Regions from separate parts of the Homo sapiens genome. Here region 2 is linked to region 1. The links are contacts of gene promoters, found by promoter capture Hi-C in blood cells and fetal thymus (Javierre and others, 2016). All regions are on one chromosome and are shown on one strand. Each heading gives the region's core, a stretch centred on a gene start or on the middle of the fragment in contact. The rest is flanking DNA. Distances are from core to core; before and after follow the strand shown.

Region 1 (3,850 bases), core at 586-3,085:
TTGATAATCAGAAAATTATATTTAAAATTATAAAACAAGTATATTCTCAAGAACAAAAGCATCTGCCATATAAAGCAGATTATGAAGTGCTTTTAGTAATTTAGTGAATATATGTACTGCCACAAACAAGGAGATTTCAAAATTCTTTACTGTATTCTCACAGGAAAAAAGGATTTTTTTCTGGATGACAGAGAGAACCTCTCCCACTTACACGTTTCACTCAACCCACTCCCCAAAACAGTAGTGTTAACTCAAATTCAAATTTCAGCAAGAAAAGTAGCTGAATATTACTTGTTTACCTGATTTAGAAAATGTATACAAAAGCTTTTGGGGGGCCGGGCGTGGTAGCTCGCGCCTGTAATCCCAGCACTTTGGGAGGCCGAGGTGGGCGGAAGACTTCAGGCCAGGAGTTGGAGACCAGCCTGGCCAACATGGTGAAACCCCGTCTCTACCAAAGAAAAGTACAAAAATTAGCTGGGCGTGGTCACGCACCTGTAATCCCAGTTACTTGGGAGGCTGAGGTGGGAAGATCCCTTGAGCCCAGGAGATGGAGGTTGCAGTGAGCCAAGACCGCGCCACTGCACGCCAACCTGGATGATGGAGGGAGACCCTGTCTCAAAATAAATAAATAAAAATAAAGAAAGTTTTTTTTTTTTTTTTTTGAGACAGTCTGGCTCTGTCGCCCAGGCTGGAGTGCAGTGGCGCCATCTTGGCTCACTGCAACCTCCGCCTCCCGGGTTCAAGCGACTCTCCTGCCTCAGCCTCCCCAGTAGCTGGGATTACAGGCGCCCACCACACCAAGGCCAAGAAAGCTTTTTGAAATCGAAATATTATCCCAGTATATCAGAAAGATAAATGGCATCTTTTTGTGTAAGGCTGGCAGGGCTGATAATCCCACCACTAAATTGTTTTTTGTCAGCGGATATCCAGCTTGTAATTATATATAGCGAAAATACCCTCTAAAGAAGACGCAAGAAGAGAGAAGGGGCAAATTTGTTTTCGATCGTTTAAACGGTCAAGAAATAACAGTCATTCAGGTCCCAGAAAACGCACTGTGGGTACCAGAAGTCAGCTGGCTCTGCAATATGAACACCCCCCCACTCCAGCCCAGAGCATAAATCCTCAGGGCCTCCTCCCAGGTTCCACAGGTAACAGACACGTAACCTTTCCAAGGCGGGGGCGCTCACCCCGCCCGGCTTCCTGCCCATTCAGCCTGCGGCCCGCTCACCTACAGAGTTGGATGAATTCCTTGTGCAGAGCTTAGGTGGCCCCTCCAGGCTCCTCTCTGACCAGGGCTCGCAAGTCCTGCGTGGGAGCAGGACACTGGTTAGCCGCGCGGGCCACTCGTGAGCCATCAGCACCCTCAGCAGGCCCTCCCCGCTCAGGTGCTGTGTGACATGCGGCCCGGCCCTGGCCCTGGGAAACGACCTCACCGGTGGGTCCCACCCTCTCCACACATCAAAGTCACCTGGGGAGGCGCCTGGGGAGTCAGAAGTGAAATAGGGGGGAATACTGCCAGGCTTTACACGTCTCTAAATGGTGCATCACGTGATGACTGTCTCTTCCCGCCAAGGGCTGTGGGGACTACAGCCGGGGCCTGGCACCTGCTCATAAAGGCCCCGTCCCCCCAACTCGACCCTTCTCACGTGGGCTAAGGGCCTGACGGGGCGGTAAGACATCCTGGCCGGCCCAACCCGCCTTACACAGGCGCCAACATACAGAGTTTCCAAGCGCGGTAAGGCAGGACAACAACGCGCGGGAGCGGAGGCCGTGGCGTCTACCCTCAAGCGGGAGCTTCCGCCCTTTCTTCATCACCGCTCACCTGCCACGACGCACGACAGGGTTTCCCGCCCAGCCGACCAGGCTCACGTCCGTGGGCGGGACTTCCGGCCGGCAGCCCCGCCGCCCCTGCAAGGTGTCTTACGCTTCCGCGGGTGCCCTAGGTTGCCAAGGGCAATGGGGTGGTCGGTGTCCCGGCCGCAAGATTTTTTAAAAAGCTACAATTTGAAAGAGAAATCTCACCGCCCCCGGTTTTTAGGGTTTTTACCTCAGACGAGCATTAGCCCCAAAATTAGGGGACTGTGCACGCGGTTGACGAGGCCTGGCTATGGGACGGTGGCCGCGAAGCACAGGACGGCGAAGCCCCAACCTCCCCTCCACCTGGCATCTGTGCTGTGTGTTCTCCCTTTTGTTGGGCACCTCGCTAATCGTCACCACAGCCCCACAGGGGCAGCCAGGCCTCCACCTCACCAGGGGGCTTCCGGAGTTCAGTCCAGGAGGACTTCTCCGCGCCTGGACCAAAGGATCAGAGTGGGGCCAAGGCCTGTCCCTTGCCGCCTCTGCCGTAAAATGCAGCCCATGGGACTGCTAGGCGATGAAGGCGAGGGGAAGGTCCCCGATACAGTGAAGAACAGCCAAAGAATGGCTGACACATTAGCGTCTGGAAAACCAAGTCCCTGTGAGGTACCCTAGCAAATCTAACAGGTTCTCACTTAAGAGACGCTGGCCTCAGAGACAGTTGCAGCAGATTAGGGGCCTTAGCTACTAAGAGTCATGCACCACGGACCACGTTCCTCAGCCCTAAGTATTAATACATCAAGCCCAAAACCGGGAACTGCCCCCACTTCTGGATTCTGGATTTCCACTCTGTTTGCATCTACTACTTCCTTTTTTTTTTTGCCCTCTAATATGCTGGTGAATGCTATTAGTCCCATGTGATTAAATTTAAGAGTATATATAATATGAGTAGAATGACCCCATAAAATTTCAAGAAGTAGGTTAGGCAGCCAAAACTCAAGTTAATTAAGATAATACTACATACAAGGGGATGGTCTTGTTTTCTGGGAAAACTACATATCCAGAAATATCTTTTTAAATTCTATTCATTTTAACAAATGATGATGGTCCTAAAATGTCCATAGCTAACATCTGCACATGGCTTAAATTCATTATTGAAGATGGTAAGAAAAAAAATTTTTAATTATCTCTAATAAAACACAAGGATAATCTATGACAAGTAACTTTGAAATAGCAAGCCAATATTGATGCTCAGTGAGAAATGGATAGGATTCATTTTCTAGGAAAATGACTGTCTCCTTTCCCCTCCCCACAAAGAACAAGACTACATTATTACAAATGAGAAAAATGTTTATTAAGAAAACAATTTAGCAGCTCTCCTTTAGAATTTTACAGACTAAAGCACAACCCGAAGGCAATTACAGTTTCAATCATTAACACACTACTTAAGGTGCTTGCTTACTCTACAACTGGAAAGTTGCTGAAGTTTGTGACATGCCACTGTAAATGTAAGTATTATTAAAAATTACAAATTGTTTGGTGATTATTTTGATGACCTCTTGAGCAGCAGCTCCTGAAAGGAAAAAGGAGAAAAGCAAATCTTTGAAAGAGTAAACTTCAAGAGTTACATACTCAATTCTGTAAAGAAACTTTTCCTTTTCAAAAGCAAAGGTGTTTTAAAGTGACCCAAAACAGATGCAGTTAGCTTACTGAGTCATATCAACATAAAAGCCTATAATTCTTTTTGTTATTAAAGGAAATCTAAACAGTAGTGTGGTTGACCAAACTTTAAAGGATACACACAGGCATAAAAGATTCTCAAAGGACACCCTACTGCTGCATTTGAATTTTACCTTGTATCTGTTTTATAATAAAAAAGGAGAAAGGTATATTTGTTCTGAATGCATTTGTAATTTAGGAAGGATCTATATTAAATATCGCCAGACCGCTATATTTACTCAAAACAAAAAAACTACTAAGAAAAAAACTTGTGCATCTTCTATAACCTGAAGATTCCTCTTTCCCAAATATTCATGGACTGGATAGAATTTTT
Region 2 (3,850 bases), core at 990-3,489, 400 kb before region 1:
ACCCAATCTCACTTAGGTTGTTTACCTTTTCAATTCTTTTATGATTAATTTATTATGTTTTATGTATTTAATCAAATAATTAAATTTTTAATTTTAGGAATTTAATTACAATTTTTTTAATGCACTTAGGTGGTTTACCTTTTTGATTCTCATAATCAAAGTAATACCTCAGTAAACCTTATGGATGAGATTTAACACCTCCCCCCACCAAACTCCTTTTATCCAGAACACCATCCTGGGCCTCTGTTCCACAGCCTCCTCCTGCAAAAAGTGGCCTCCATAGGGCAGCCCTCCTTCCACACATCTTCCACCGCCCAAGGCCAGCATCAGCTGAGCCCATAATGGTGACAGTCTTCTCCCCTGCAGGAACCCCCACAGGAAAAGAATCCATTGTGCAAGTCCACATTGAAGTTTTGGATGAGAATGACAATGCCCCGGAGTTTGCCAAGCCCTACCAGCCCAAAGTGTGTGAGAACGCTGTCCATGGCCAGGTGAGTCTGGTTCAGGTGGGAGGGGAAGGCAGCACCACCCTGGGGCAGGCTGGGGGGCAGAACTGCTCAACAGAGTCAGCAGGAGTTCCCCTGTACAATAGCCTTGAGGAAAATAACATTATGCCCATTTTACAGATGGAGAAACTGAGGCTCAGAGGGAATATATGGGGAGTAGATTGGCGGGGCAGGGAAGTAGAAAGAATGGCTTTATGAAGAACTAAATAGGTGAGTGTTGCAGGTGGGAAACAGCCATGGTCAGGACTTAAACCCAAAGGCTCCATCGCTAAACCTCAGACCACCCCACCACCCCACCACCATCACTGACCATCTCCTGTCTTCCACACTCCAGCTGGTCCTGCAGATCTCCGCAATAGACAAGGACATAACACCACGAAACGTGAAGTTCAAATTCATCTTGAATACTGAGAACAACTTTACCCTCACGGATAATCACGGTAGGCATCAAAGTAATCAGTTCAGCTGGGCGTGATGACCCACACCTGTAGTCTCAGCTACTCAGGAGGCTGAGGCAGGAAGATCGCTTGAGCCCAGGAGTTTGAGGCTGCAGTGAGCTATGATCACATCACTGCACTCCAGCCCGGGCGACAGAGCGAGACCCCGTCTCCAAAAAAAGAACAAATGCAGTCAGTTGGCTCTAACAGGGTCGGGGTGAGGTTATTTGAGTCTTGAGGCACCAAGGTCAAAGACCAGGCCAACAAATTGAGGGCAGGCTCCCACTGGGATTTTCAAATCATTAGATATTTTGTACAATTTCTGCCACATACATTGTACAATTGGTCTATGCAATGGTCAGAGACACTCCATCCAAACTCCCAAGTCCACGTCGCCTGCAAGGAGCCAGCGAGGAGTACAGAACAGATGTGAGGATGCAGGCAGTCAGCTCAGTTCAAGAACTAGCCAAGGAGTCCCCTCCCATACTGGAGGCTCTATGGGTCAGCAAAACTGCACATTAAACATGGAACTTTGAGGTCATTCCCAAAGAGTCAAAACTGGAAATGTGAAATCCTAAATCCCAAGGATCCAGTGAGCTTTGTTTTAATTCAGCTACAACGATTACTCACGATTAGCAGGGTGGCCCGTGTGATGGCATTAGCAGCCAATCAGAGCTTCTGAGGAGTAGGTGCTGACTTAAGTGATGATGCTGAGTTGACTTCATTCCAGCCACAAGTAGGCAAGCTTCCATGGCCTCTGAAATTTCCTCAAAAAAATAGAGAAAATTCCCCTTGGGTTTAAATAGAGTGATCCTTCACCTAGCATGGGATGGAATTCCTGCCTGTCCCTAATGGGCAAAACTATGGTGGATGAGGATGGCTGTATTGCAGCAGCCCATTACTACATTTAAGGAAGACTGGGGAGTGGGGTCCCTGAAAGTTGGAGGCAGACTTGAGGGATCAACCACAGACCAGTCCTTAAGGAGACTCCTGTGGGATGGAGAAGGTGGCCCTGATGTGTTGACAGTCAATGACAGACCATTCAACACCCAGTTGTCATTAGAAGTAAATAATGTGGCAAAAATGTCACCCCCTCCCCAATGTCCACCTCAGTCCCATCTCAGAGTGGGGATCTGCAATACAGTAGAAAGATTCAGTGCCACCCCAAAGACACCCATATACAATAGGAGGCAAGTCTGTTGGTGTCAAATTCACTTATATCATGAACATCCTGCATGTCAAAATCTCTAGTTTCTCCCATAAGTGTCAATGACATATAGTTTATTTTGAAATATAATAGACTTAATGCTGAAATGTAATTATGAATAATGAAATATAATTGGCTTTCATTCAAAATCGAAAAGATGGATTCCTGGGTTTTTCAATCCAGTGTGTGGAGCCTGTGTAGCTAAGTAAATCCTGGAGTAGGGAGTTCCTGGATCCTTCTCTGATCGTTGACATTACAACCTCCTGGGACCCTGCAAAAGGCAGATTATCTGGCCTCTGCCCAGAACCACTGAATAAGAAGTGTGTGTGAGCATAGGGGTCTGAAAATCAGCATGTTTTAAAAGCTCCCTGGGGGATTCTTGGGTACAGGAAACCACTGATTGGATCTGGGAAGGTGGGCGGGGCCAATATTTGGACAAAAGCATTTCCCAGTTCCAAACTGCCTGGGAAACCCGCAATTCTATATGTAATCATTTTCTCTGTGCCCCAAGGGACATGTCCATTGTTTTTACTGTTTTCAACAATGTAACAATGGATTTTCAGAGAGAGCAGAAGCTGCCTTAGAAATTAGCCTAATGCTAAAAGACTTTTTAAAACTTTATTTTTCCCCGCTGCTTGTCAAAGCTTGAAACGGAGCATTAATTAATTGAGCTGAAAGAGAAAACCTCCTGTTACTGGAGTGGGGTTAGGGAAGAGGAAGGGGAGAGGCATCAGTTGCCCACAAATACAGAAAGCAAAGGATTTGACCTTCTTTCACCAAGGCATCCTTGGAGATTGGGTCAAAGCAGCTGCCCCAAAATATCCCCTCTGTGGCGGAACAGACCTGCACTCAGATGGCTGAAACAAGAGGCGCTGGGTGCAAAGGGCAGAAAAGCAGCCCAGGGAGCACGCAGGCTGGTGCAGTCAGGGAGGGCTTCCTGGAGGAGCCAGGTTTCCCCATCTGTGCAGATGGCAAAGCCTGACTCCGAGGCCTTGGTGTTTCCAGATAACACGGCCAACATCACAGTCAAGTATGGGCAGTTTGACCGGGAGCATACCAAGGTCCACTTCCTACCCGTGGTCATCTCAGACAATGGGATGCCAAGTCGCACGGGCACCAGCACGCTGACCGTGGCCGTGTGCAAGTGCAACGAGCAGGGCGAGTTCACCTTCTGCGAGGATATGGCCGCCCAGGTGGGCGTGAGCATCCAGGCAGTGGTAGCCATCTTACTCTGCATCCTCACCATCACAGGTCAGTGCTGGGCAGGGTGGGGAGAAGACACAGTGGGTGGAAGGGGATGGAAGGTGTTGGGAGGCGGGGAGGCTTCACAGGAAAAGTAGAGGCCAGAGGTTCAGGCCCAACCCTGCCTCCAATCTGCAATGCAGCCCTTAGCCAGTTCATGTGCAGGATGCAGGATGTGAGCTCCAACCACCTGGGTGCTCACGGTGGGGGATGAGCCAGGGAGGAGGAGGGGGTGGGACTCAGGACTCCTCCCCCACGCATCAGGCCAGTATCACTTTAAAATAACTTATACATAACAGTCACTCCTTCCACTTAGATATTTTCAGCATTTACTGAGTGCCAGGCATTGTTCTGGGCATGTATTTACATAAAACCTATTTTTGAAAAAGGAAAAAGGATCCAGTTCTAAAATGGAAAGTTTAAAAACTTCTAGTTTAGATTGTCTCCACGTGCTTTCT

Evidence for each region. Contacts are between HindIII fragments. The CHiCAGO score rates a contact against its expected background, and 5 or more counts as called.
Region 2: a fragment that was not itself captured here is called in contact with the fragment with the promoter of TERB1 in region 1 in 2 of 17 cell types (M2 macrophages and total B cells); the score reaches 6.1 in M2 macrophages.

The regions. Positions count from the first base shown.
Region 1 is chr16:66,799,749-66,803,598 of GRCh38, forward strand. It overlaps TERB1 (telomere repeat binding bouquet formation protein 1), which reads right to left and starts at 1,836. Exons shown (of 19, transcript NM_001136505.2): 1 at 1,720-1,836; 2 at 1,229-1,305. NAE1 (NEDD8 activating enzyme E1 subunit 1) reads right to left here. Exons shown (of 20, transcript NM_003905.4): 20 at 3,130-3,370. The coding sequence ends at 3,261. The HindIII fragment of the contact is 6,773 bases long and covers 811-3,850 here.
Region 2 is chr16:66,397,616-66,401,465 of GRCh38, forward strand. It overlaps CDH5 (cadherin 5), which reads left to right. Exons shown (of 12, transcript NM_001795.5): 9 at 367-491; 10 at 841-946; 11 at 3,156-3,401. Among named protein-coding and RNA genes, the nearest start is that of LINC00920, 9.0 kb to the right of the region's middle. The HindIII fragment of the contact is 1,106 bases long and covers 1,687-2,792 here.